Regions from separate parts of the Homo sapiens genome. Here region 1 is linked to region 2. The links are contacts of gene promoters, found by promoter capture Hi-C in human tissues and cell types (Jung and others, 2019). All regions are on one chromosome and are shown on one strand. The core of a region is centred on a gene start or on the middle of the fragment in contact, and the rest is flanking DNA. Distances in the headings are between cores, read along the strand shown.

Region 1 (2,700 bases), core at 18-2,517, 460 kb before region 2:
CCAAAAGCAATAAGATAAAATATTGATAAATTGACTAGATAAAAATAAAAACAAAAACTTACAAGGCAGAAACAACATCAACAACAGCAACAAAAAAACACCAAAAGCAAAATCAAAAGGGAAAAAATAAACCGGGAGAACATTTTTGCACCTCTAGGGTACGATAGAGAGCTAATTCTCCTGATATATAAAGAGCTCAAAAAAACCAAGGGGAGAAAAAAAGGACGAAATACCAGATGAAAAAAAAAAAGTGCAAATTATGCAAATGAGCATTGTGCTATTAAGTGAATGTTTGTCTCCCTTCAAAATTCATATATGGACGCTTAAACCCCAACGTGATAGGGCGTTGGAGGTAGGGACTTTGGGAAGTGATTAGGCCATGAGGGTGGAGCCCTCAAAATGGGATTAGTGTCTTTGGAAAAAGAGACTAGAGAGTCAACTCTCCCTCTCTCTGCTTTCCCCTATGTGAGGACTCAATGAGAATGCAGCCAACTGCAAACCAAGAAGTGGGCCCTCAGCAGACATGAGATTTGCTGGCACCTTGCCCTTGGACTACCCAGCCTCCAGAACTGTGGGTAATGTTTTTATTTCAGCCACCAGTCTATGGTAATTTGTTACAGAAGCCCAAAGTGACTAAGACATATTTATAATTTGTTATAGAAGTCCAAAGTGACTAAGACATATTTATGTATATTAAGACATATATTATGACATATTAAAACATATGACATATATTTATTAAGACATATATGTGTGTATAAATACATATTTATATATGTTTTAGAAATATATGTATGTATATACATGCATGGTCCTTAAACATGTGAAAGGAGGCTTAGTTTCATGCATAGGTAAGAAAAAGGTAAGTTAAAATGTATTGATCACATTTCCTGTCAAAGTGGCAAAAATAACAAGCTTAACAATACACTTTGTGGTGAGACTGTGTGAATAAAGATTCTGTAATACACTGCAAGGGGGGTAGAAAATGGTAAAATCTAAACAAAGAAAAAGTCTATGAAGATGTTAGCAAAACAAACAAATCTAGGAATTTATCCTGAAACTGAACTTTTGCATATGTAAAGGAAGGCATTTAAAAAAAAAATTGTAGCCTTATGCATAATAAAAAATAATGGAAACAACCTAAATGCTCATTCACAGAAGACTGAAAAAACTACAGAACCTCCATATAGTGGAGCAATATGCAGCTGTACAAAAGAATGAAAAAGATTCCCATGACCCATATGAAGAGGTATTGACGTTATATTAAGTAAAACAGGCAACCTATAAAAGCACATAGATAGAATGTTACATTTTGTGTAAGAAAGACTGAGGCAATTTACATATATTTTGAAAAAACTGGTGTCTCAATTCACTGGGGAAAGATGGACTTTTTATTAAATGAGATGAGAGGACTGGGTAGCTAGGTATGGGTTTGTGTGTGTGTTTCCTTATTTTTGTAAACAGAAACATGGTAAGGAAAACCAGAAGGTGGGTAGGAATAGGGTGGAAGGATATGGATGAGAGTGACTTCCCTGAGCATTCTTCTTTATATAATTTTGAATGCTGAGGCAAAGGAATATTTTATACTTTCCAAATGTAAAATTGATAAAAGCAATAGAGCATTTTAATCTCTAAAACTGAACGTAACTATAAATATATAAATCTAAGTGTATAGCAAATTAATAATATAACTCTATAGAAAATAATTTTAATAATCTTGGAGTATATATTCTTAGTGAAGCATACAATAAGGAATAAAGATAATTGCAAAGAAACGTTGGATTTTCTCTAGTGGACTTGTATTAGTAGCAACAGTATTTTTATTCTAGAATTATTTTGTGTAGACTATGACAAAGAAGTGAATACATTAATGCAGTAAGGAATCAAAATTGCCACTATACAAAAACAGATATACATGAAAGAAGAGGAAATGAGGAAGAAACCTGTGATAATGGATTGAATTAGATCTATTTGGATCTGTAATCTCACTGCTAGGATTACAATTTGAGGCATTACCAAAGAATAAAAACGCCAAATGAAGAAGAGATATCTGCTTCAGATTTACCTATAATAGCAAAAATAAAACAGAAATTGTCTACTCAAAAGTAAATAGTAAGTAGTTAATATGATTTCCAATCAATGCATTATTATTCAGCTATACAACTGATAAATATTAAAAATATTTAGAATCATGGCCATGCTTACAGTGTCATGTTAGATGAGAAAACTTTAATATGTTACGTATGCAAATATATAGATGAACACAGTTTGATCTTTGGGAAAATAAACAGACGATTGTGTATATCTGGAATTACTAAACCACGAAGGCAACTTATTTAGTTGAATTTTTTTCAAAGCAACTTTTTGTGTTAACAGTAGCATCAGATGTTGACAAAATTAAAGACTCACTTGCTGTTACTCTTCCCACCTTGTTTTTCAACTGGACTGAGCAACTTCCCATTTTTTTGAAATTGAACCTTTATTAAGGCAATAATTCAGGACTGGCCTCTAAAATAATTGGTTTTTCTCTTCTCAATCATACAACCGAATAATTTATTTAAGGCCAAGGACACATAATTCTAGTGTTGCAGTGTAGTGCTAGGATTAATAGTGCATGAAATTTTTGCCACATGCAACTAATACCAACTAATGCCATTAAAGCAATATGTTTTGGTTGGATTAAAAGAAATATTTTGAATC
Region 2 (2,700 bases), core at 40-2,539:
AGGGAAATTATTGCATTATTTCACTTATAGGTGGGATTTTGTTTTAAAAAAGACTTCAAATGCACAGAGCTAGAGAATGAAACAGTGAATACCACTAGTGGGAAGCAGGGAAGAGGAAAAGGGGTGATATAGGTCAAAGGATACAAAATAGTAGACACGTAGGATACATAAATCTACAACAGGGTCCCTAACCTTTTCGGCACCAGGGACAAGTTTTGTGGAATACAATTTTTCCATGGGCAGTGGGGGTAGGTGGATGGTTTTGGAATGAAACTGTTCCACCTCAGATCATCAGGCATTAGATTCTCATAAGGAGTGGCGCAACCTAGATCCCTCGCATGTGCAGTTCACAATAGGAGGCGGAGCTCAGTCTGTAAAGCTTGCTCACCGGCTGCTCACCTCCTGCTGTGCAGCTTGGTTCCTAACAGGCCACGGACCAGTACCAGTCCATGCTGGGGAGTTTGGGACCCCTGGTCTAGAGAGCAAACGTGCAAAATGAGGACTAAAGTTAATAAAATTGTATCATATTAGGAATTTTTGTTAAATAAGTTGATTTTAGCTGTTCTTGTCATACACACAAAAAAGTAATTACGGGTGAGATGATACATATATTATATTGGCCTCCCTACTGTAACCATTTTTCTGTGTATATGTATCTCATAATATCATGTTGTAAACCTCAAATATACAGAATGAATAAAACAATTAGCTGTCAATTTGGCCTTAATGTTCCATGTTAAAGCCAAATGTCTATGTTTGTAATCAGCTAAATTTTATATTGTGCAGAAGCCCTGAATTTCACGGATGCCCCATATTTCATGGATGCCCCGTTCAGTTCATAAGCTCTTGTTTACATGATTTGTGCATGATCCAAATGTGGAAAGAAAATGAGTGGGCAGCCTATTCTGGGTATCAAGCAAAGAGCACAGGCACAGACCATGTGCAATAAGCAGCCTTAGGCAAAACTGAACCAAGAGTGGTTTCATACAGGTATTCCTCTAAGTCTTTAATTTTTTACTTATTCCTTTCCCCTTTTTAATGTGATAGACACCTAATCACCTTCTGCTGCCTTCCCAACCTCAACTTTGGTGTTCTTTGGCAGATAGTGACTTCGGTGTTCTTTGGCAGATAGCCTACAAATGAAATTTCAAAGGCTAAGCATATAATGTTTGCTCACTTGATGTAAGCAACAGAGAACTAAATCTGAACTTTGGCAAAAGTCTATTAATAATTGACAAATAACAGAACAGTGAGGATGTAGAAAGCAATACATTAAAAAAAAAAAAACAACGAACTCCATCTGGGATAGCAATAACCTGTGAAAATGCTCCCCCGGCTAATTTGTATCAATGATTATGAACAACATGCTAAATCAGTACTTCCAAAGTCTATATATGACTATTACAGGTCTGGGGCAAATGATGAAGAAACTTTGGCTGATAATATTGCAGCATTTTCCAGGTAAGAAAATTTATTTTTTAAAATCATGTTTTAAAATTACACAAAGACCGTACCAAAATAAGATCTCCTAGTTTTACGTTGGTGGTGTGTAATTATTTGTTCAGATTTGTGCTTAGTAGAGAGGGAAAAGTTCTTGGGGCTGTAAGAAATCTTGGGCCTTTAAATTGTTAAAAAATATTCCAAGCCTGTGAATCTTGAGGAACTGACTGCAAAAGCCAAACCTATGTTACTTCACTTGGAAATATGACAACAATTAATTTAACTACATGTAAAAATAGCGATAAATTCGGATGACTTTTCTTTTTCTTAGTATGACAGTAAATGCTTATGTTCATGGTGTAGGAAACAGCATTAAATGCCAGATAACCATCTTATCCGGATGAACCAGACTGGATTGTTGGCTCAAATGTTTTCTTCCTGCTGGCTTTTCGTGTTATCATTCATTTTGATTACTGTTGTCTAAACTTTCACTTTAGATTTCAATTTGTCTATGCAGCATTAATCTTTCAACTTTGCTGTTTCATCTCTCCTTCAAAGCACTTCATCTCTCTTCCCAAATTAGTTTTCCTTTGACTTTCATATTTCAAAGCACAAGATGGTGGGTGACATGGTTTATGTTTTCTGTTTGTAATAAAAACAAGAAATAAAATCATTTCAAAGGGTTTTTTTTTATAGCAGTTACAAAAATGGTTTATTTGCTGGAGCAAGAGAGGAGTGCCTTCACTACACTACACTCAGTCTCATCCATCTAACATTATGGCTGTTAGTAAAGGCAATCGGTATTGTGGGTACTCATTGATGGTGATAAAGACAAAAAGGCAGAAAATATGCAGGGGGAGAGAATTAGCCTTCCTCCCTGATTTCTTCTTTAGTCTACAACAAAATCACTCAAAATCAGTTTTCCATATTTAAATTAGGAGAAATAAAATTATCCTGGCCAAGGTGGTCTCTGGTAGGCAGCACTGATTCACCCACAAATCCATGTAGAAGACTGAAAATGGCAATGGGGTGAAGGATACGGCCTCTCCCCAACCCTTTCAAGCCTTGACTTTGTCTCAGGTTTTGCCTGGAACCCAAATGAGCTCAACAAATGCCAGGGAAGTCATGGGAAGGGAAGTTGACTGAGAGTAGAGGGGCTTAAAATTCTGCATCATTATTTACTATTTTGGACTCATTTAAAAGTTTCTGCTCTTGGAAGATGCCCCTTCTTGGGCCGATATTAACTTTGTCCACCAAAAT

What was found. Contacts are between HindIII fragments. The study calls those that stand out against the background at their distance.
Region 1: a contact is called between a fragment that was not itself captured here and the fragment with the promoter of HAO1 in region 2, in 2 of the 25 tissues and cell types used here (bladder and hippocampus).

The regions. Positions count from the first base shown.
Region 1 is chr20:8,396,317-8,399,016 of GRCh38, reverse strand. All of the region lies in intron 3 of PLCB1 (phospholipase C beta 1), which reads right to left. Among named protein-coding and RNA genes, the nearest start is that of PLCB1-IT1, 150 kb to the right of the region's middle. The HindIII fragment of the contact is 4,629 bases long and covers 1-2,700 here.
Region 2 is chr20:7,939,047-7,941,746 of GRCh38, reverse strand. It overlaps HAO1 (hydroxyacid oxidase 1), which reads left to right and starts at 1,289. Exons shown (of 8, transcript NM_017545.3): 1 at 1,289-1,461. The coding sequence starts at 1,325. The HindIII fragment of the contact is 11,188 bases long and covers 1-2,700 here.